Linked DNA regions of Homo sapiens: regions 2, 3, 4, 5, 6 and 7 are each linked to region 1. Evidence: promoter capture Hi-C in 16 types of primary human blood cells and fetal thymus (Javierre and others, 2016). All regions are on one chromosome and are shown on one strand. The core of a region is centred on a gene start or on the middle of the fragment in contact, and the rest is flanking DNA. Distances in the headings are between cores, read along the strand shown. Region 1 holds the start of CRTAM (cytotoxic and regulatory T cell molecule). Region 2 has its middle 23 kb from the start of TRK-TTT2-1. Region 3 overlaps CLMP (CXADR like cell adhesion molecule). Region 4 has its middle 40 kb from the start of TRK-TTT2-1. Region 5 holds the start of SNORD14D (small nucleolar RNA, C/D box 14D). Region 6 has its middle 37 kb from the start of UBASH3B. Region 7 has its middle 17 kb from the start of SNORD14E.

Region 1 (3,350 bases), core at 317-2,816:
CTTTAAACTCTGGAAAAATTGAAATCATCCTAATTTTAGCTGTCTAAATGTACTCTTTTTGAATGTATTAGCTATTCTTTAAGCCACTTAATGAAGAAACTAATATTATTCATTACCAAAATTGAATCCTTATTAAGTGCCTCAGGGTACAGGGACCAAAAAAAGAAGGCATTAATTGAAGTATATAAAATAGGGAATTGAAGTACTATGTAAAATAGGAAATCGAGTTTTTTAAAGTAGCGTCCTTCAGATGCCATTCCAGATTAAATGTAGATTTAGAAGGATAGGTGCATTTCATGAAACAGAACTACAGTTTCAATATTTGGTAACAAACACACAAAAAGCAAAATTTTTGAGTGGATTTGTGAGGGATGTCCTTTGCATGAATCTGATACAATTGTAAGCAGAGACTGAGGGACAACAGGAGCCACTTCCTACACCCCTGCCCCCACTTTTGGGTAGAAAATAATTTGACCTGCTCCAAAAAGGTAACTGCTTCTATCCTTAATTTTCATAATGCTACATTAGGATTAAGCACTAAAATCCAAATTTGAAAATTATAGTAAAATGTAAAGTATAACTTACTCTTTAAAAATAAACACGAAGTTTTCATTGGTCTCATTATTACCTCTGAGCTAAATAAGTGTTGCACAGCGCTTTATCATTTTCAAAGTGCTTTCACATTTGAAATTTGATCCTTCTAACAATCCAGGGAGTTTGGTGGATCAAAAGTTTTTATCATTTTCATTTTAAGATGCAGAAACTGAGTTTCAAAGAGATTAAATCGTTTGGCTAAGATTTATACAGCAAGGAAATTTTAAAATTCAACGTGGAGGCCGGGCGCGGTGGCTTACGCCTGTAATCCCAGCACTTTGGGAGGCTGAGGTGGGCAGATCACGAGGTCAGGAGATTGAGACCATCCTGGCTAACACGGTGAAACCCCGTCTCTACTAAAAATATAAAAAAATTAGCCGGGCGTGGTGGTGGCGGGCACCTGTAGTCCCAGCTACTTGGGAGGCTGAGGCAGGAGAAAGGCGTGAACCCGGGAGGCGGAGCTTGCAGTGAGCCGAGGTCGTGCCGCTGCACTCCAGCCTGGGCGACAGAGCGAGACTGTGTCTCATAAATAAATAAATAAATAAAATAAAATAAAATTCAATACGGATGCTCTTTCAACTGGTATGCCCTTAAAAGACAGAGCCTAATAAGCTTGTTTCATCTTGCCGTAACATAGGACCCACAGAGACACACACTATAATGATCCTTTCTATACTCCTTAGCCATTGAACGAGAGATCAAATAAACGCAGTAACATCCCTCAGATGCATGATTTGAGCATGGCTTGGAAAGTATTAGCAGTTACCTGGGTTGTCTTCTACAGCAGCTCCTCTGTAAATGCAGTTGACTGACTGATAGGTAGATGTGGCAAAACATTAAGTCAGCTGAGCAACAACAAAAATAACTCTAAGTCCTTACCTTGCAAGGGGAACCATGCCAGCAAGCTGAGAACTCTCCACCACATACTGTGCTGTGCTGCTGTGGCACCTTTGTCAACTTCCTCTAGATTCTGAGACAAATGGAGCTGAGTAGTTTCTTTTAAAGGGGGAGAGGCAGTAGATCTGTGACCTCATGTGTATCAACTCCTCCATCTGTCTGGAAGCCCCCTCTTAGTTAGCTGCCCCCAGAACACCTCCTGGTGGAACATTTTGGGGACCACATGTATTATCTTGATGGCAGAGAGGTGTGAGTGATGTGTTGGTGACAAAAATTGTTTTACCACAAGTGGGTAGTACTGGTAAATCAACTAGTTGCAAGGTTTTTAGAGGGAGCATGGGTGGGAGAAATACTGTAAAATGTCCCTGTGTAGTGACGTCATCCTTATTTTTACTTTTCTAGTTTATTAGATAAATACAATTAGATAATTTTTGCTCAACCTTTGGGAATATTTTATTTCTATGCTGACATCAATTTATAATTGTTGTCGGGGAGGAATTCATTCATTCATATAGATATACTCATTTTTGAAATCTATATATCTGTCCACCCACCCATCCACCCATCTTTTCATCCACCCACTCACAAATACAAATCTATTCATCCACCTATCCATCCATCCATCCTTCCATCCATCCACCCACACATCCATCCACCCATCCATTTATCCTTCCATCCACCCACTCACTCATGTATTACCTGCCCACTCATTCCCCATCCACCCATCCATCCATCTATTCATCCACACATCCATCCATCTCTCCATCCATCCAGCCAGCCAGCCATCCATCTATTTATCCATCCATCTATCCATCTATCCATCCATCCATCCATCCATCCATCCATCCATCCATCCATCCATCCATCCATTTATCCACCCATCCATCCATTCACCCATCCATCTATCCATCCATCCATCCGTCCATGACCTATTCATTCACCCACCCATCTATCTATACATGCAAATACTCATCCATCCACCCAACCACCCATCTATCTATCCACCCACGCATTCATCCATTCACCCACTCATTCATCCATTTACCCACCCATCTATCTATACATATGTCCGTCCGTCCATCCATCCATCCATCCATCCATCCATCCATCCTTCTATCCACCCATTCATCTTGTCACCTGTACAGCATCTAGTATGCACTACTTTGAGACATGCTCAAATAAAAAACATAAATTCCTTGTTTTTCAGGAGAATATAATCTAGTGGGGGAGACAATGTACATATGAACAGTTCTGGTATTTAATTTTCATTAATTGGACAAATTGAGATAGATTTAATGTAGTTTTTCCAGGAGCACACAGTAAAATATTAGTAAGTTTATGTTTAGAAAACAGAGATCAGTCTGCAATGCTTGGAAAATGAAAAGGAAACACTACTTACTGGCTCTAATTGAAATTAGTGTTAATACTCTGATAAATTTGATGAAGTTTGGGTAGGAAAAGTCTTACTCATCAAAAATGTCTTCCAAATATTTTGTTGGCTGGGCACAGTGGCTCATGCCTGTAATCTTAGCATTTTGGGAGGCTGAGGTGTGAGGATCATCTGAAGCCAGGAGTTCAAGACCAACCTGGGCAACATAGTGAGACCCCCATCTCTACAAAAAATACAAAAATTAGCTGAGCATGGTGGTGCATGCCTGTAGTCCCAGATACTTGGGAGGCTGAGGTGGAAGGGTTGCTTGAATGCAGGAGGTTGAGGCTGCGGTGAGCCGTGATCACACTACTGTACTGCAATCTGGGTGACAAAGTGACACCCTGTCTTAAAAAAATAAAAATAAAAAATCCTCCAAAACACAATATTTTGTCTTTCAAATTTTTCATTTTTTAATTTTTTCCCTTTT
Region 2 (3,350 bases), core at 322-2,821, 260 kb after region 1:
ATTTTCATATTACTGTAAATTAATTCAATGAACTAGCTTTCTTGAAAACTGACATAGCCTGGTATTGAAGAAAAGTGAGTTTTGATTGGAATGCAGGAATGGAGCATGCAATTTGGAAGTATGGGGGTATTTTTTATGAAAAGATTAGACTTGAGAGGATGAAGCCCCTCAAGAGGCACTGGTGAGGTTCTAGTATCTTCATGTTAAAGATGAGAAATCAGGTCAAGAAATCTCATCATGTATAATGTCACCCAGCTATCGGGGGAGTTCATCTGAATTTGAACTCAGGATTGTCAAATTCCCCAGTTTAGAAGAGAGGTGCTCTGGGAAGCAGAAGAAAAACACAAGAGGAAGGTGTATTAGACCATTTTCACACTGATAAAGAACTGCCTGAGACTGGGTAATTTATAAAGCAAAGAGGTTTAACTGACTCATAGTTCAGCATGGCTGGGGAGGCCTCAGGAAACTTACAATCATGGTGGAAGGGAAAGGGAAGCAAGGCACCTTCTTCACAAGGCGGCAGGAAGGAGAATGAGTGCAGGAGGAACTACCAAACACTGACAAAGACATCAGATCTCATGAGAACTCACTATCACAAGAACAGCATGGGGGAAACTGCCCCCATGATCCAATTACCTCCACGTGGTCTCTCCCTTGACATGTAAGAATCATGGGGACTACAATTCAAGATGAGATTTGGTATGAGTGAACTCCCATTCACAATTGCTACAAAGAGAATAAAATACCTAGGAATACAACTTACAAGGGACGTGAAGGACCTCTTCAAGGAGAACTACAAACCACTGCTCAAAGAAATAAGAGAGGACACAAACAAATGGAAAACCATTCCATGCTCATGGATAAGAAGAATCAGTATCATGAAAATTACCATACATCCCAAAGTAATTTATAGATTCATTGCTATTCTCATCAAGCTACCATTGACTTTTTTTTTCACAGAATTAGAAAAAACTACTTTACATTTCATATGGAACCAAAAAAGAGCCCAAATAGCCAAGACAATCCTAAGCAAAAAGAACAAAGCTGGAGGCATCACCCTACCTGACTTCAAACTATACTACAAGGCTATAGTAACCAAAACAGCATGGTACTGGTACCAAAACAGATATATACATCAATGGAATAGAATAGAAGCCTCAGAAATAACACCACACATCTACAACCATCTGATCTTTGACAAACCTGACAAAAACAAGCAATGGTGAAATAATTTAATAGGTGTTTTCCCAGCACCTATTTAATAAATGGTGCTGGGAAAACTGGCTAGCTATATGCAGAAAACTGAAACTGGACCCCTTCCTTACACCTTATACAAAAGTTAACTCAAGATGGATTAAAGACTAAAATGTAAAACCTAAAACCATAAAAACCCTAGAAGAAAACCTAGGCAATACCATTCAGGACATAGGCATGGGCAAAGACTTCATGACAAAAACACCAAAAGCAATTGGAACAGAAGCCAAAATTGACATATGGGATCTAATATAACTAAAGACCTTCTGTACAGCAAAAGAAACTATTATCAGAGTGAACAGGCAACCTAGAGAATGGAAGAAAATTTTTGCAATCTATCCATCTGACAAAGGTCTAATATCCAGAATCTACAAGGAACTTAAACAAATTTACAAGAAAAAAACAAACAACCCTATCAAAAAGTGGGCAAAGATATAAATAGACAATTCTCAAAAGAAGACATTTATGCGGCCAACGAACATATGAAAAAAAGCTCATCATCACTGGTCATTTGAGAAATGTAAATTAAAACCACAATGAGATACCATCTCATGCCAGTTAGAATGGTGATCATTAAAAAGTCAGAAAACAACAGATGCTGGTGAGGATATGGAGATACAAAAATGCTTTTACACTGTTGGTGGGAGTGTAAATTAGTTCAACCATTGTGGAAGACAGTGTGGCAATTCCTCAAGGGTCTGGAACAAGGAATACCCTTTGATCCAGCAATCCCACTACTGGGTATATACCCAAAGGATTATATATCATTCTACTATAAAGACACATGCACATGTATGTTTATTGCAGCACTATTTGCAATAGCAAAGACTTGGAACCAACCCAAATGTCCATCAATGATAGACTGGATAAAGAAAATGTGGCACATATATACCATGGAATACTATACAGCCTTAAAAAAGAATGAGTTCATATCCTTTGCAGGGGCATGAATGAAGCTGGAAACCATCATTCTCAGCAAACTAACACAGGAACAGAAAACCAAACAGGGCATCTTCTGACTCATACGTGGGAGCTGAACAATGAGAATACATGGACACAAGGAGGGGAACATCACACACCCATGGCTGTCAGGAGGTGGGGGGCAAGGGGAGGGAGAGCATTAGGACAAATACCTAATGCATGCGGGGCTTAAAACCTAGATGATGGATTGATAGGTGCAGCAAACCACCATGGCACATGTATACCTATGTAACAAACCTGCATGTTCTGCACATGTATCCCAGAACTTAAAGTAAAATAAAAATAAAAAAAAGAGAGAGGTTATACATATCTCTCTGAGTGGCTGAAAAGAAAAAAAAAAAGATGAGATTTGGTTGGGGACACAAAGTCTAACCATATCAGAAGAGAAGAGGATGCTGGAGCTTAGCTCAGTTACTCTGAAAATTTCCTTAGGCCAAGCTGAGGAGGTAGGGGGAAAACAGTACCTCGATATTTCCTTTTTCTGTCCCTGGGTCCTTTCCTAGGCTTTGTGCTCCCGGCCCAGAGGCCAAGACGAGAAAGGAATGGCAGGAAGATTTGGGACTTTTTATGCAGCCAGTCAAGTAAGGTCATTATGAGTCTCTTGCCCAAATAATAGCAGGGCCCTAGGGTAATTCTTTGGTTCCTAGACGCATGAATGGTCTGCTGTATTAACCGGAGCTGGAAGATGGTAAGTTTGGAGAGCAAGTGCTCACATGCTGTGCATCCGGACAAGACTGTGCTTCCGTGACTAAGGTCTATGAATACACCGAGCACGTGGTTGGGCCTGACACCCGTGTCAGGTACTGGTAGGAGCAAGCAGTACTGTGTAATGTAGTTCTTTGAGAGGAAGATCTCAGCCACCATCAGAAGCATAAAAAGAAGGGTTTTGTTTGCATTAAGTCTGGAAAGAAACAGTTCACACCACTGGGTGGCAGTATGGCGCGCCTCTTTGTTTTTCCTGAGTGGCAATACTGTATTTTCCAGACTTACTAAGGAACCATGTTCCTCTCGGCCATATATAACTACCCTTTGCTTCCTGTCCTGCTCCCTGTGTCTCTGTCCCTACGCATTCTGAGCGTCAGCTGTGTGTGTGTGTGTGTGTGTGTGTGTGTGTG
Region 3 (3,350 bases), core at 531-3,030, 250 kb before region 1:
TGGTGAATGCCTGTAATCCCGGCTACTTGAGAGGCTGAGACAGGAGAATCGCTTGAACCCAGGAGGCGGAGGTTGCAATGAGTGGAGATTACGCCACTGCACTCCAGCCTGGGCAACAAGAGTGAAACTCCATCTCAAAAATAAATAAATAAAATAAACAAGAAAGAAATTCCAAAGCTCTCAGGCCAAAAAGGTCACCCACCTGTCAAAGCCCACAAAACCCCAAAGTTCCTAAAAATTACCCAGTGCTTCACTGTCTTGTAGGTTTTGCCTCTCTTCATTCTCCTAGAAAGTACAAACTGACTTCATTGTAGGTGATTATGCATCTGGGGGAAATATGGACAAATCAGAAAGAAAGAGAAACATTAACAGAGCACCTAGTAAGTGTTCCAAGCTTACCTGCCTTATCTCCAGGTGTAAGGCCCCCTTACTTTCAGTCTTTGAATGGAGACAAACTCTACAGCTTCCAGTTTTTTCCTGTTGTGAACGCATTTCCTTCTTTTCCAACTATCCCAGCAATTTTGCATTACTAAGTCAGCTCTATCACCTGCCAAGAAACCTACCCTTCCAGCTGGGCATGGTGGCTCACACCTGTAATCCCAGCACTTTGGGAGGCCGAGGCGGGCAGATCACCTGAAGTCAGGAGTTCGAGACCAGCCTGACCAACGTGGAGAAACCCCATCTCTTCTAAAAATACAAAATTAGCTGGGCCTGGTGGCACATGCCTGTAATCCCAGCTACTCAGGAGGCTGAGGCAGGAGAATCACTTGAACCCGGGAGGCGGAGGTTGTGGTGAGCCAAGATCATGCCATTGCACCCCAGCCTGGGCAAAAAGAGTGAAACTCCGTCTCAAAGAAAAAAAAAAAAGAAACAAAACGAAACCTACCCTACAGAGTACAACAGGATGTGGGGCCAACAACACCCTACAAACATTTTTCTGTTTTGTTTTGTCTTGTTTTGAGGCAGAGTCTCACTCTGTCCCTAGGCTGGAGTGCAGTGGCATGATCTTGGCTCACTGGAACCTCTGCCTCCTGGGTTCCAGCGATTCTTCTGCCTCAGCCTCTTTAGTAGCTGGGACTACAGGCATATGCCACCACACCCAGCTAATTTTTGTATTTTTAGTAGAGACAGGGTTTCACCATATTGGCCAGGATGGTCTCGATCTCTTGACCTCGTGATCCACCCGCCTCGGCATCCCAAAGTACTGGGATTACAGGCATGAGCCACTGCACCGAGCCGCAAATATTTATTTATTTCATTTTATTTTTTTGAGACAGAATCTTGTTATGTTGCCCAGGCTGGAGTGCAGTGGCATAATCTCCACTCACTGCAATCTCTGCCTCCCAGGTTCAAGTGATTCTGCTGCCTCAGCCTCCTGAGTAGCTGGGTTTACAGGCGCACACCACCACACCTAGTTTTTTCTTTCTTTCTTTTTTTTTTTGAGACGGAGTTTCGCTCTTGTTGCTCAGACTGCAGTGCAATGCCGTGATCTTGGCTCATTGCAACCTCCGCCTCCCGGGTTCAAGCAATTCTCCTGCCTCAGCCTCCCGAGTAGCTGGGATTATAGGCATGCGCCATCACGCCCGGCTAATTTTGTATTTTTAGTAGAGACGGGGTTTCACCATGTTGGTCAGGCTGGTCTTGAACTCCCAACCTCAGGTGATCTGCCCACCTCGGCCTCCCAAAGGACTGGGATTATAGGCGTGAGCCACCACGTCAGGCCACCTGTCTAATTTTTGTATTTTTTAGTAGAGACAGGGTTTCACCATGTTGGCCAGGCTGGTCTCAAACTCCTGACTTCAAGTGATCTGCTTGCCTTGGCGTCCCAAAATGCTGGGATTACAGTTGTGAGCCACCGCACCCAGTTACATTTTTTTCTTTTTTTAAATTTTATTTGTTGAGACAGGGTCTCACTCTGTCACCCAGGCTGGAGTACAGTGGCGCAGTCTTGGCTCACTATAGCCTCAACCTCCTGGGCTCAAGCAAACCACCAGCCTTGGTCTCCCAAAGTGCTTGGATTACAGGCGTGAACCACCACGCATCTGGCCCCCACAAATATTTAGAACAAACAAGTACCACATCCAGGAGAAGGGCTGTGATCCTAGCTCTTCCCCATCTGTGCCTAAAGCAGAGGGCTTTCCCTTGAGTGCTAGGAACCCCATGGAATTATCTGCAAAATAATATGTGAGTTTTTTCTGGGTCAGAGTTCATAGGTTTTATCTGATTGAGAGAACCTTCTCAGGAAAGGCTCTGAAGAGCTGTGGAGCAACACGTGATCAAAGGCAGGGTTGAGGGCTTGAGTGAAACAATTTGGAACAGCTGCAGCTGAAATGTGCCTGGGAGATGCCCATATGCTTGCATGCCTTTTTTAGTGCCCTTCTGTGTAGCTGGAATGCTCCCTCCAGGCCTTTTCTCCTTGCCTCTCAAAGCCTAGCTCAAATGCCACCAACTTGTCTGGGACACTCTCCTTGATACTATTTCAAATAAATCATTTCTTTTTCTCTGTTTAATAGTCTTTCCTTGTTAATCTCACTTGATTATAAATCACTTGAACCAAAGAAGAGATTTGCCAGGCGCAGTGGCTCACACCTGTAATCCCAGCACTTTGGGAAGCCGAGGAGGGTGGATCACCTGAGGTCAGGACTTTGAGACCAGCCTGGCCAGAATGGTGAAACCCCATCTCTACTAAAATAAAAAATTAGGGCCAGGCGCAGTGGCTCACACCTGTAATCCCAGCACTTTGGGAGGCTGAGGCAGGCAGATCATCTGAGGTCAGGAGTTCAAGACCAGCCTGGCCAACATGGAGAAACCCCAGCTCTACTAAAAATACAAAAATGAGCGAGTCATGGTGGCATGCATCTGTAATCCCAGCTACTCAGGAGACTGAGGCAGAAGAATTGCTTGAACCCAGGAGACAGAGGTTGCAGTGAGCCAGGATCGCACCATTGTACTCCAGACCGGGCGACAAGAGTGAGACTCTATCTCAAAAAAAAAACAAAAAAAAAAAAACATAAAAAATTAGTTCGGCTTAGTGAAATAGGGCAAAGGAAGCAATCAGATATGCATTTATCTCATGTGTGCAGAGGGGTAACTGTGAGTTCTGTCTGTCCTTTGTCCACAAGCAGTCACCTTGTGGGCAAATTGTGCAGGAGTACTGTAAGCTTTTTTTTTTTTTTTTTTTTTATCTTTGTAGCTATCTTATTTCTTATTCAGGAATAGAATGGAAGGCAGGCCAGGCGTGGTGGCTCATGTCTGTAATCCCAGCACTTTGGGAGGCCAAGGAGGGTGGATCACCTGAGGCCAAGAGTTCAAGACCAGCCTGGCCAACATGGCGAAACCCTGTCTCTACC
Region 4 (3,350 bases), core at 570-3,069, 240 kb after region 1:
CATGAAATCCATGATCTGAGAGCTGGAAGGGCCTTTCAACATGGTTCAGCCCAAGGTCCTTTTTTTCCAGATGGGAACAGTGTGGCTGTCTGAGACCACCCTGCCTGTCAGTAGAGAGCCAGGACAGGGACTCATGGCTTGGGATCCCTGACCCAGCGCCTTTCTCTACACCAGGTTGTCAATCACTGTTTAGGAACTTGCGATAATGCAGCACAAGCTTTTTTCTCTCTGGGCAGCTGACTGTGCTTGAAACCAAATGACCTTGCATACTCTCGTGGCTGTTCTCAAGGACCACCCAATCACTCAGGCTAATACATCACTTTTCAGCAAAAAGCTTGTGGTATCATCATCAGGAAACCCAGTCAGATACTCCAGGGACCATGGTAGAGATGGAGGAGGTTAATACAAGCATGGAGAGATGCTGTCTAGAAGTCATCATCATTTTCTTGTTTATGGGTAGTATTAGAGCCAAATGAAGTTATGACTGTAAAATTAGTGATAGTAGTGATTTATTAATATGATACTAATAATGTCAGTAGAATTTGATGTCAATTTTGATTTGCCTAAGTCCTTTTCTTCCTTCCTTCCTGCCTGCCTGCCTTCCCTTCCTCCCTGCCTCTTTCCTTCCTTCCTTCCTTCCTTCTTTTTTCTTTTTTCTCTCTTTTTTTTTTTGAGACCAGGTCTTGCTATGTCACCCAGGCTGGAGTACAGTGACACAATCATAGCTCACTGCAACCTTGACCTCCCAGGCTCAAGTGATCCTCCTGCCTCAGTCTCCTGAGTAGCTAGGACTACAGACACATGCCACTAGGCCCAGCTAGTTTTTGTTTATTTTATTTTTTTGTAGAGACGGCATCTCATCATGTTGCCCAGGCTGGTCTCAAACTCCTCCCGCCTTGGCCTTTCAAAGTTCTGGGATTATAGGTATGAACCACCATGCTTGGCTCTGACCATTTTCATAGATCACCTGAATTCTCCTTGGTTTGGGTCCACCATAAACTGACCGTATGACCCTAGGACAAGGCTTCCACCTTCCTGGGCTCCAGCTAGATCACTTTTAGAGTATAGATTCCACTTCTGCCTTCCAGAAGAGGAGCTGTTACAGAGAATGATAGAGTTTTGACTGAAGTTGACATCTCCTGTATATATAATAAATTGGCTTCAAGATTGTGCTTGACAGACTAATGTAATCATTAGTTAAGGTCTTTTTTTTTTTTTTTTTTTTTTTTTTTTGCTGAGCAGCTCAGGGCTCTTTCTAGCTTTTACTTAACCGTGCTTGTTTTTATATTCTCTGCAGGATGACAGTCTGAATTAGAGACTGGCAAAAGGGACAAGGGCTCTGTTCTGAAGGGATCAGCCTGGCTGTGAATCTTAAAAATGGACCTCCATTGACCCCAAATGCCCAGGTCTGCCATTCAGAAGGCCACATCTAATGTGGGTGCCCATGTGAGAAGCAGAACTGCATAGCAGCCCCCCAGATTTGGTGCACATTAGAATCACCCTGGGACCTTTTCGAATTCCTGATGTCCGGGCTGCACCCCTTCCCATCAGACCAGAAAGTCTGGGGTGGGAGTCAGGACCAGGGTTTCCTAAAGATCAAGGTGATTTCAGTGTGCAGCAAGTTTGTGATTCATTGAGACGGAAGACAGGCCCCTTGTTCATAAGCGAAGCAGAATGGTATCTTCAGCCTGTCTTTTACCTCCCCTTTGGATTGATTTTATTGAAGATGATGAAAAAGAGAAAAAAAAAAAAAGCTACAAAAAGTACAAGCCAGGGAAAGCAGAATGAGGAAGGTGGTTAGGATTAGGGAAGACATAAAAGAGGAGGGGGTCATGGGGGGAAACTTAGGGAGGGAAAAAGGAAGGGGAGAACTTCACAGGGGTTTGTTGTAAAAGGGTGCATTTGCCTTCTCAGCTAAAGGACATGTGATGCCATAGAAGGTGGTGGGAGGGATCAGGAGGGGAACAGCATCCCTGAGAAATATGGTGGAATGTGGGTGTGGAGAGGTAAAAATATCCATTGCTACACTGTGGGCATCTCCTGGGGGATGTTTCTGTGCTGGAGGACTCATTCTTTGTAATTAAGAGAAGGGAATCCTTCTGCCACATTGCATGAGTTCCCCAAGTGAAATTTATATGCCAGGTGCAATTTATCAACTTATTAGTAGACAAATAAAAGTTTAAGCATTCAGTGTGCTTAACTATGCCCTTCCCCAGGTACTTGTGTTGCCCAAACCTAGAGACAAAATTGCTTCTTTCTACTTGAAGGCTTATACAACTTGAACTTGAAGCTCTTCTGCAGAGAGGCTCAGAGAGAAGGTTATTAGGTGCTCTGGGGAGATTATCTGAGGTCACACTGGCTTTCTTCCTGAAAGGTTCAGTGTCAATAAGAATGGGAGGCTGTGAAGCCAAGCAGACAACCCCCATGTCTGGGTTGGTTGTTCCCCTATGACTCACAGACACTGTGCCTCCACCAGCACAGCGCTTCCCAAACTCCAGTGTGGCTGTTCCCTTCTCTGTGTCCTTCCTGGGCTATAAGCCCCATGAGTGTGGATATTGCTGTTCTCGTTCATTCTCCACTGACTCTCCGGCACCTACTATGCTGTAGGTGCTGACTCCACATTTGTTCAGTGAATGAATGCTGGTTTTCCAGCTTACTTGTAAATAAACTTGGCTGGGTTGCTAATCTTCTCTAAGCTCCAGCTTTTTTTTTTTTTTTGAGGTGGAGTTTCACTCTTGCTGCCCAAGCTGGAGTGCAATGGCTTGATCTGGGCTCACTGCAACCTCCACCTCCCTGGTTCAAGCGATTCTCCAGCCTCAGCCTCCCAAGGAGCTGGGATTACAGGTGCCTGCCACCACACCCTGCTAATTTTTTGTATTTTTAGTAGAGATGGGGTTTCACTATGTTGGCCAGGCTGGTCTTGAACTCCTGACCTCAGATGATCCACCCGCCTCGGCCTCCCAAGGTGCTGGGATTACAGACATGAGCCACTGCGCCTGGCCTATTTTTTAATATGAAAAATGAGGATAACAATACACCCTTCATATTGGGGGTGTGTAGTGACCATTAGAAACACTCAATGTAAAGTGCTTTAGAGGGTCTTGCTCTAAGTGGGCACTTGGTGTGTGACCACTGTAAGCAGTTCTTGTTCCATGGGTAGGTGGAGTTCACCACCAACCCCGTTCCCTGCAAACCTGCAGTGGTTCCCCTCCACAAGTTTCCATGCATTCCCATGGTCTTCAGCTGAGCTTCCAAACATTTTCCTTTTAAACAAATCACAGTGGAGCTATTTTGACTAAGCTTGGTGTATCATTGTGAGTTTCTCAAACATAAAAACAAGGCACAGGAGG
Region 5 (2,872 bases), core at 291-2,790, 220 kb before region 1:
CAAGTCTGTTATAAAACAGGTTGTAGAAACCTTTCAGGCTGAAATCTGGATAACGTAGGAGGTTGAAGTTTGAACCTTTGCTACCTATATGGTAGTTGAATTCACCTACCTATGAACTGTTAGGTATTTGAGTAATCATGGACTTGAGTTTTATCAGAAGAGCTATGAAATTGAAAGTGTTTTCATTTGACACCTTTTACAGATGCCAAACGTCTGATTGGACGCAGATTTGATGATGCTGTTGTCCAGTCTGATATGAAACATTGGCCCTTTATGGTGGTGAATGATGCTGGCAGGCCCAAGGTCCAAGTAGAATACAAGGGAGAGACCAAAAGCTTCTATCCAGAGGAGGTGTCTTCTATGGTTCTGACAAAGATGAAGGAAATTGCAGAAGCCTACCTTGGGAAGGTGAGGTTGGTTTTTCAGTATGGGGTGCATTCCGGAGTAGTTAAAAGCCCGATGACTCCCGGGGGCACTGGCACCTGGCGAGGGAGGGGAACAGATGGGGCTCAGCTCAGGGTTAAGACCACGTGCCCAACAGTGCCCTAGGCTCTCTAGGTAGATGGGTCTGTCAACACCAGAAACCAGTGAATCTTGACAATTACACAGTAATTTACATTTTGGTGGGGGGGGTGCTCCAGCTGTTCTTTCACCAGCATTAATCCATTTGCTGGAGTTTGCATATATGTAAGTATAATAGTTACCAATCTGTGGTCTTTTCCTTATTCCTAGACTGTTACCAATGCTGTGGTCACAGTGCCAGCTTACTTTAATGACTCTCAGCGTCAGGCTACCAAAGATGCTGGAACTATTGCTGGTCTCAATGTACTTAGAATTATTAATGAGCCAACTGCTGCTGCTATTGCTTACGGCTTAGACAAAAAGGTATGTACCATTTGTGATGCAAGTTCGGATTATTTTAAGATTAATTTGATCCATCGTAAATTTAAATGAGATTGTTTTTAACGGCAGGTTGGAGCAGAAAGAAACGTGCTCATCTTTGACCTGGGAGGTGGCACTTTTGATGTGTCAATCCTCACTATTGAGGATGGAATCTTTGAGGTCAAGTCTACAGCTGGAGACACCCACTTGGGTGGAGAAGATTTTGACAACCGAATGGTCAACCATTTTATTGCTGAGTTTAAGCGCAAGCATAAGAAGGACATCAGTGAGAACAAGAGAGCTGTAAGACGCCTCCGTACTGCTTGTGAACGTGCTAAGCGTACCCTCTCTTCCAGCACCCAGGCCAGTATTGAGATCGATTCTCTCTATGAAGGAATCGACTTCTATACCTCCATTACCCGTGCCCGATTTGAAGAACTGAATGCTGACCTGTTCCGTGGCACCCTGGACCCAGTAGAGAAAGCCCTTCGAGATGCCAAACTAGACAAGTCACAGATTCATGATATTGTCCTGGTTGGTGGTTCTACTCGTATCCCCAAGATTCAGAAGCTTCTCCAAGACTTCTTCAATGGAAAAGAACTGAATAAGAGCATCAACCCTGATGAAGCTGTTGCTTATGGTGCAGGTAACAATGGTATCTCAATTAACCCTAAAGGCAGGCAGGCCCAAGGTGACTCGCTGTGATGAGTGATTGTTAAACATTCGTAGTTTCCACCAAAAGCTTGGCTAATGATGGCAACACCTTCCTTGGATGTCTGAGCGAGTGATAGTTAAAACAGGAGCTATGTACTGGGTTTTCTTTTAACTTCTTTTAACGTTAACTTTTTGTTTGCTAGCTGTCCAGGCAGCCATCTTGTCTGGAGACAAGTCTGAGAATGTTCAAGATTTGCTGCTCTTGGATGTCACTCCTCTTTCCCTTGGTATTGAAACTGCTGGTGGAGTCATGACTGTCCTCATCAAGCGTAATACCACCATTCCTACCAAGCAGACACAGACCTTCACTACCTATTCTGACAACCAGCCTGGTGTGCTTATTCAGGTATGTTTCTGTACTTCTCTTGTTTGGCTTACTGATAACAGATAAAGGGAAGTCTTGACTGACTCGCTATGATGATGGATTCCAAAACCATTCGTAGTTTCCACCAGAAAGTCTTATGTTGGCCAGTTCCTTCCTTGGATGTTTGAGCGACCATTCTTCCTTAGCAGGACCCTAGCACTGTCACAGACCTGGAGTCCATTGTAGTAATTTGTTTTATTTCCTACCAAGGTTTATGAAGGCGAGCGTGCCATGACAAAGGATAACAACCTGCTTGGCAAGTTTGAACTCACAGGCATACCTCCTGCACCCCGAGGTGTTCCTCAGATTGAAGTCACTTTTGACATTGATGCCAATGGTATACTCAATGTCTCTGCTGTGGACAAGAGTACGGGAAAAGAGAACAAGATTACTATCACTAATGACAAGGGTAAGGAGGCACTGTCATCTGGTCTTGACAGGGATAATGGTATTTCAATTGAGTTACTGGTGCCTAAGGGCGTCTAGCTAAGAGAAACTAGAGTTACACATACACAGGTAATTTAAGGCTTTTACTTAGAGTTAATTTCTTTCCTAGGCCGTTTGAGCAAGGAAGACATTGAACGTATGGTCCAGGAAGCTGAGAAGTACAAAGCTGAAGATGAGAAGCAGAGGGACAAGGTGTCATCCAAGAATTCACTTGAGTCCTATGCCTTCAACATGAAAGCAACTGTTGAAGATGAGAAACTTCAAGGCAAGATTAACGATGAGGACAAACAGAAGATTCTGGACAAGTGTAATGAAATTATCAACTGGCTTGATAAGAATCAGGTTTGTGTTTTTTTTTTTTTTTTTTCCTCCCCCACTCAATGGAGGGGAAGGGGATGGTAAACCAAGCTTGAGCTGGATTTCAGTGTAGGGTCACAATGATGAATGGTCCAAAACATTCGCGGT
Region 6 (3,350 bases), core at 517-3,016, 220 kb after region 1:
CTTCTTTCACTTGGCATAATGTTTTCAACGTTCATCTGCCTTGTAGCATGTATCAGTACGAGTTTATTATGCCTAATCTGAAAATCTGAAATCTAAAATGCTTCAAAATCTGAAGCTTTTTGAGTGCTGAAATGACGCTCACAGGAGATGCTCATTGGAGCATTTTGGATTTTGGATTTTGGGATTAGAGATGCTCAACCGTAAGTATAATGCAAATATTCTAAAATTTGAAAAAATCTGAAATCTGAAATACTTCTGGTCCCAAGCATTTTGAATAAGGGATAACTTAACCTGTACTTCATTCCTTTTTATGGCTGAATAATATTTCATTGTATGGATATACCACATTTTATTTATCAGTTTATCAATTGATGAACCTTTGAGTCATTTCCGCATTTTGGTATAATGAATAATGCTGTAATGAACATGCCTGAATAAGTTTTTGTGTGGATATAGGTTTTCAGTGCTTTTGGGTATATACTTAAGAGTGGAATTGCTGGGCCATATGGTAACTCTACGTTTAACTTTTGAAGAAGCTGCAAAACTATTTTTCAAAGAGGCTATACCACTTCACTTTCCTACCAGTAATGTATGAGGGTTCCAATTTGTCTATATCCTTGTCAACGCTTATTATTGTGTGTCTTTTTTGATTATAGCTGTCTTGGTGCTTATGAAGAAATATCTCATAGTGGTTTTGATTTGCATTTCCCTGATGAGTAATGTTGTTGCATGTCTTTTAATGCAATTTCAGCTGACTGTATACCTTCCTTGGAGAAATATCTATTCAAAATTTTTGCCCATTTCAAACTAAGATTATTTGTCTTTGTTGCTGAGTTGTAAGAGTTTATAGATTCTGGATGCAAGTCTTTTTTTTTTTTAAAGGGTATGTGAACAGAAACACATTTATTACAAAAAAAAAGAAAACCCAAAATGAAAAACAAATTCACATTGTATTGAGCTACAATATGGCAGCAGATTAAAGAAAAATATTTTTAGACAGTTTAGGATAACTCCTAACAGAACATAGCCTTGTTGCCACGTGACAGGACACAGGATTCCAAGTACTCGGTAGCGGCGAGTGAAGCGGGCATTGATGGGCCTGCTCCCCCTGCTCGGGCCTCCGAACCCGCCTTGCATACCACCGTGTGGGATGGGGTGGCCCCGGGAGGCCCCGCCTGAGGCAAAGCTGCCGAGCCCTGACATCCCTTCTCAGTTCATCATGTGGCCAGGCCCGGAGTGACCGGACATGCTTCTCTCACCACCTTGCCATCTCTTGTGATCCCTGTCCATCATGCCCCCATCAGCTGTGCCCTGCCATGCTCAGTCATCCTCTCTTCAGCCACGGTCCCCCGAGTAGTCATGTCTGCCCCTGGGGGGAGGAGGCAGCCCCCGGCCCTCGCTCATCCTCCTGTCGGAGCCACAGCCCCCCCAGCCATCACGGGAGTCCCGGCTGTGGCGCTCTGGTCCTGCATGGCGTTCTGGGTAATGCTGGACATCACAGGGCCAGAGGGAAAAAAGAGCTTCAGTGTCAGCCCCCAGACCCCAAGGCTTTTCAGGCAACACGCTAACGATGACAACGACAGTCACTCTGGACAGAATTGTTGGCAGGCCGTATTGGTTCACATGACACAGCTGCCTCCCTGAAATCTGTAGGCCAGAGGCCCTGTGCCCTAGGCTCACGGCCTGGTACACAAAAGGTACCAGTACCAAGGCATCTCCAAGGCAGGTCCCCATGGCACCACCAGAGCTGGGAGGACCACCAGGAGTCACCCACTAAAGATGATGCTTACTAGAGAGATTCCCTGGGTCCCACAGCCCAAATGGTTAGTGCCCAGAGCCAATAGTATTCTCTTGTTAAGTGTCTTCTACTAAGGAAAGTTCAGGTTTATAAACTTTAAATGTGTGCATATTCTGGAAATAGTTTTTACAAATTTCTTCCTTCCACACTGAAGGAAGTATCAAACGTAGCCCTTCATCTGACCAATTGCTAGGCAAGCATCCTTCCTCATAGTCAAGTTTCTCAGAAGTTTCTGCTGGGTGCCCGGTACAGGGCCTTGCACCTTGCTCTGCTCAGGACACAGGACACTCAGAGATAAACGGCTGGAAGACAGCCGTACCCTTGGCCAGTCCCACCATTCCCTCCTCTGTGTCATTGTTTTTGTGAGCCACGTGGCTGACACAGACCAGGAGTTCTTCACCCTGCTATTTGAGGGAAGACCAAGAGAGGGCGAGTCATACTCTATGCCCACTTCTTTGATGGCCACGGTTAATATTTACACCCACAGCCTGTTTCTGTGGCTGGAAGCACTTTCCAGCCTGACTTTCACAAAAGCTAGTGAGGTAGCTTTGGCTCTACAGTCCTGTTCTTTCTCTTTCCACAAATACAGTATGTGGCCTCTGGGGTTTTTGCCCCATGACCATATTGCAAGAGAAAAGAAACGAGAAAGGAGTCCTGGTAAGGAAACCCCCTTGACGGAGCCTGGTCGTTGTCCATGTCCAAGTTCACCTCCCCATTAAACGGAGAGGTCGGCCAGGGCGAAGGCAAAGATGGCGGCATGCTCCACCACGTGCAAGATGTACTGCGTGACCACTGCCTGCTTCCCTGGCCTATTCTCCCAGTGTGTGCTCTGACGCCTCCCCTCAACAACGTAAGAAAAGGGACTCGTGAAATAAGAGCTCCTTAGTATTTGAAAATTGAACCAACATTTTTCTGTCCAACCAACCCAGCTAACAGTTCAATGAGGCCCATAAGTTCTGTGCTAGTTTTCCCTGTAGGGAGATATCACCATTTGCCTTTGGGGTAACTCTGATGACTCATTTATGACTGTGTGTGTGAGAAGAAAGGATCAAACCACCTTCCACTGTTAGGAGAGCGTATCTGACACCTGCATGAAAGCAGCTTGTGGCCAGGTGTGCTGGCTCACATCTGTAATCCTAGCACTTTGGGAGGCCGAGGCAGGAGAATCACTTGAGTTCAGGAGTTCAAAACTGGCCTGGACAACACAGTGAGACCCCGTGTCTATTAAAAAAAAAAGTGGCTGGCAATGATAAACACGTTTGTACAGACACGCACCCGCCTCATGTAAACTCCCCACCACCCCACCCTCTGTAGGAGGAATATTACCCTCCTTTCACTGCTGGGGAGACAGACTCAGCAGGAAGGGGTGATACCAGGGTGTGACCCCAGTTCTGTCTGATTCTGGAGGCTGGACATGGAACCATTGGTCTATGCTCCTCCACCAAAGAAAATCCACAAGACTAGTTCTAGGTTTTGTTGCATATAATTTGCCTCCAGGAGCAGGGAAAAAGGAACCCCACCAGGCTGATGGAATTCCTGAGAATCCCGAGAC
Region 7 (3,350 bases), core at 529-3,028, 200 kb before region 1:
TGAAAAACTGACTTTATATTTTGTGGTTTTTTTTTTTTTTTTTTTTTGAGACAGAATCTTGCTCTGTCACCCAGGCTAGAGTGCAATGGCATGATCTTAGCTCACTGCAACCTCTTCCTCCCGGGTTCAAGTGATTCTCCTGCCTCAGCCTCCCAAGTAGCTGGGACTACAGGTGCGCACCATCATGCCCAGCTAATTTTTGTATTTTTAGTAGAGACAGGATTTCACCATGTTGGCCAGGCTGATCTCGAACTCCTGACATCAGGTAATCCACCTGCCTCGGCCTCCCGAAGTGTTGGGATTACAGGTGTGAGCCACCACGCCTGGCTTGATTTTACATTTCTAATCTTATTTGATTGCAACAATAATGTCACAAGGAGGCAAGGACAGAACCTCTTAGACAGAAACCTGGAATATTTACATTTTTTTAGGCTCTTAGGATATTAAGAAATGTCAAACCAAGATTATAAAAATTGTGATATATTTAAAACTTTATATTTAATGAGTGAATGCTTTTATTTTATTTACTTATTTATTTTTCTTTCTTTTTTTCTCACATTTCTCTGAAGAGTGAATGCTTTTTAAAATGCAATGCTGGGCTGGGCGTGGTGGCTCACACCTGTAATCCCAGCACTTTGGGAGGCCGAGGCGGGCAGATCACGAGGTCAGGCGATCGAGACCATCCTGGCTAACACGGTAAAACCCTGTCTCTACTAAAAATACAAAAAATTAGCCGGGCGTGGTGGTGGGCGCCTGTGGTCCCAGCTACTCGAGAGGCTGAGGCAGGACAGTGGCGTGAACCGGGGGGAGGCCAAGATCTGGCCACTGCACTCCAGTCTGGGTGACAGAGCGAGACTCCATCTCAAAAAAAAAAAAATGCAATGCTGGCCAGGTATGGTGGTCCATGCCTGTAATCTCAGCAATTTAGGAGGAAGAGGCAGGAGGATCACTTGAAGTCAGGAGTTTGAGACCAGCCTGGGCAGAAAACCAGATCCCATCTCTACAAAAAAATTTTTAAAAAGTAAACAAAAACGCAATGCTGGCCAAGTATGGTGTCTCCTGCCTGTAATCCCAGCATTTTGAGAGGCCCAGGCAGGAGGATCACTTGAGCCCAGGAGTTCAACATAGTGGGAGCCCATCTCTACAAAAAGTTTAAAAAATTAGCCAAATGTGGTGGCATGTGCCTGTAGTCCCAGCTACTCGGGAGGCTGAGGTGAAAGGATGGCTTGAGCCCAGGAGGTCAAGGCCACAGTGAGCTGTGATTGTACCACTGCACTCCAGCCTGGATGACAGAGTGAGACGCTGTCTTAAAACAAACAAACAAACTACCTAAAAAATGCAATGCTAAATACTCGTCCTAGACAAAAATGTATTTTAAAAATCCCATTAGTGTGTGCTGCAGAAGGGGTGGCCCAAAAATGACTCATACATTTCCAACGAGGAACATCTCCTATTTTTTTTTTTAATTGAGATGGGGTTTTGACATGTGGCTTAGGTTGGTCTGGAACTCTTGGGCCCAAGCAAGCCACTGGTCTCAGCCTCCCAAAGTGCTTGGATTATAGGCATGAGCCACTGCTCCTGGGTGATCATTTCCTTTTAGTCTTATCAGTATTTCTCTTTGGCTGAGTGTGTGTGTGTGTGTGTGTGCGTGTGTGTGTGTGTGTGCGTGTGTGTGTGTGTGTGTGTGTGTGAGAGAGACAGTCTCACCTTATCGCCCAGGCTAGAGTGCAATGGCACAATCTCGGCTCACTGCAAGTCCACCTCCCGGGTTCAAGCGATTCGTGTGCCTCAGCCTCCTGAGTAACTGGGATTACAAGCGCGTGCCACCACACCCGGCTAATTTTTTGTATTTTTAGTAGAGACAATTTCACCATGTTTGGCCAGGCTGATCTTGAACTTCTGACCAGCCTCCCAAACATGGGAGGATTTTGGGAACTTTGACCTCCCAAAGTACTGGGATTACAGGTGTGAGCCACCGTGCTTGGCCTGAATGTGTATTTATTTTAAGATAATGTCAAAATCTAAACTTAAGGCCCCAAATTAATGTGAGGTTCAGGTGAAATGACCAGTTCTCTCTTTCCACCAGCACTTGCCATTGTGAAAAGCCATGGTGCAAATGTCATTCCCATTTTTACAAACGAAGAAGGCGTCTCAGCAAAGGTATTGTTTCTGCCTGAAGGCTGCAGAGCAAATGTGGTAGTGGAACTTGATCGGGAGGCGGAGGTTGCAGTGAGCCGAGATCGCACCATTGCACTCCAGGCTGGGCGACAGAGTGAGACTCCTTCTCAAAAATAAATAAATATAAAAATAATAAATAAATAAATAATAGACAACTTAAAATTTATAAATAAATAAATAAAAGACTGGAACTTGGGTTTTGGCTGTAAGCCTAAACACTCGAGACACCAAGCCTAACTGAGGGGGCTATTCATTTTGGACAGTGAGTGCCGAATATACCTCTGGGATCTGCCAAGGAAAGTGGGCTGCCACGGAGGTAGTGAGATACCAGGCTCCAGGAGCCACCAACAAGAGGTCTGACTAAAATGATTTGGGCTTGCTGCAGAGGATATTCAAGAATGGGGTGTCAGGGTGCGAGGAGGAGGGAGCTGCGTTAGATTACTTCCAGCTTCCTTTCAGACACCCCCCAGCATAGGGGCCAAGCCCAAACCGACAGCACAGCTCCACTCTCCGGGGGAGGCGGGCTGGGCTGTGCATTCATTTCCCCACCTTTTCATTCGTGGCAGCCTGCCACCGGTTGTTGGGCATCCATAGCTTAATTTGAACAAGTGGGCTCTGGTTTCCTGAGGCGAACTGTCCGGGCGCCTCAGCCATCCATCAGTATTCTCTTCAGTCCCCTGGCAGCTGCTCACTCCGGGCTGGCTCAACCTGCACTGACCTCATCTTCCCACACAGAGCAGAGGAGGATTTGGAAAAAATTAGTTATATTAGTGACTCCCCGAAACACTCCGTTTACTTGTGATATGACAAATATTTCAGCCATTAGGATCTCTCCGTCTCTTATCATCTTAAATGCACTCACTTACATTCCAAATCACTACTTAATTTAAAAGCCTATTTGTTGAGATTGTGACAGGCCCAGGGAAAAGGAGAGACAGACACTCACTCAGCTCTGGCTGGAATAGAATCAGATTTGGAACTTTGATTGAATCTTTCTCCCCAGGACTTATGCTCAGTCAGGTATCATCTAAACACTTAGGGCACGAGAGACTTCCAGGGCACCCACACTGTGGAGATTTATAAGGTCTGCTTCGAAGTAGCCATGTGGCATGGTGACCTTGGGCAAATGACTTCATTCCTGGGTGTCCTTATGCTTTCTGACCCCCGGATAC

What was found. The method cuts DNA at HindIII sites, captures the fragments that hold promoters and counts their contacts. A CHiCAGO score of 5 or more calls a contact.
Region 2: a contact is called between a fragment that was not itself captured here and the fragment with the promoter of CRTAM in region 1, in 3 of 17 cell types (naive CD4 T cells, fetal thymus and total CD4 T cells). The highest score is 5.7, in naive CD4 T cells.
Region 3: a fragment that was not itself captured here is called in contact with the fragment with the promoter of CRTAM in region 1 in 2 of 17 cell types (total CD8 T cells and naive CD8 T cells); the score reaches 11.2 in total CD8 T cells.
Region 4: a contact is called between a fragment that was not itself captured here and the fragment with the promoter of CRTAM in region 1, in 6 of 17 cell types (megakaryocytes, activated CD4 T cells, erythroblasts and 3 more). The highest score is 7.5, in megakaryocytes.
Region 5: a contact is called between a fragment that was not itself captured here and the fragment with the promoter of CRTAM in region 1, in 2 of 17 cell types (total CD8 T cells and naive CD8 T cells). The highest score is 15.8, in total CD8 T cells.
Region 6: a fragment that was not itself captured here is called in contact with the fragment with the promoter of CRTAM in region 1 in 2 of 17 cell types (megakaryocytes and endothelial precursors); the score reaches 11.4 in megakaryocytes.
Region 7: a contact is called between a fragment that was not itself captured here and the fragment with the promoter of CRTAM in region 1, in 1 of 17 cell types (naive CD8 T cells). The highest score is 5.5, in naive CD8 T cells.

What each region holds. Positions count from the first base shown.
Region 1 is chr11:122,836,716-122,840,065 of GRCh38, reverse strand. CRTAM (cytotoxic and regulatory T cell molecule) reads right to left here and starts at 1,566. Exons shown (of 10, transcript NM_019604.4): 1 at 1,474-1,566. The coding sequence starts at 1,519. The HindIII fragment of the contact is 4,925 bases long and covers 1,209-3,350 here.
Region 2 is chr11:122,581,057-122,584,406 of GRCh38, reverse strand. No RefSeq gene overlaps it. Among named protein-coding and RNA genes, the nearest start is that of TRK-TTT2-1, 23 kb to the right of the region's middle. The HindIII fragment of the contact is 6,967 bases long and covers 1-3,350 here.
Region 3 is chr11:123,085,429-123,088,778 of GRCh38, reverse strand. The region is part of intron 2 of CLMP (CXADR like cell adhesion molecule); the gene reads left to right. Among named protein-coding and RNA genes, the nearest start is that of HSPA8, 25 kb to the right of the region's middle. The HindIII fragment of the contact is 2,767 bases long and covers 397-3,163 here.
Region 4 is chr11:122,598,279-122,601,628 of GRCh38, reverse strand. No RefSeq gene overlaps it. Among named protein-coding and RNA genes, the nearest start is that of TRK-TTT2-1, 40 kb to the right of the region's middle. The HindIII fragment of the contact is 2,966 bases long and covers 337-3,302 here.
Region 5 is chr11:123,058,129-123,061,000 of GRCh38, reverse strand. It overlaps HSPA8 (heat shock protein family A (Hsp70) member 8), which reads left to right. Exons shown (of 9, transcript NM_006597.6): 3 at 203-408; 4 at 733-885; 5 at 973-1,528; 6 at 1,740-1,942; 7 at 2,171-2,369; 8 at 2,517-2,749. SNORD14D (small nucleolar RNA, C/D box 14D) reads left to right here and starts at 2,006; the gene lies at 2,006-2,092. It overlaps SNORD14C (small nucleolar RNA, C/D box 14C), which reads left to right and starts at 1,579; the gene lies at 1,579-1,666. SNORD14E (small nucleolar RNA, C/D box 14E) reads left to right here and starts at 2,845; the gene lies at 2,845-2,872. The HindIII fragment of the contact is 172 bases long and covers 1,455-1,626 here.
Region 6 is chr11:122,616,994-122,620,343 of GRCh38, reverse strand. No RefSeq gene overlaps it. Among named protein-coding and RNA genes, the nearest start is that of UBASH3B, 37 kb to the left of the region's middle. RefSeq lists an enhancer at 1,312-1,812. The HindIII fragment of the contact is 3,297 bases long and covers 118-3,350 here.
Region 7 is chr11:123,039,675-123,043,024 of GRCh38, reverse strand. No RefSeq gene overlaps it. Among named protein-coding and RNA genes, the nearest start is that of SNORD14E, 17 kb to the left of the region's middle. The HindIII fragment of the contact is 6,954 bases long and covers 1-3,350 here.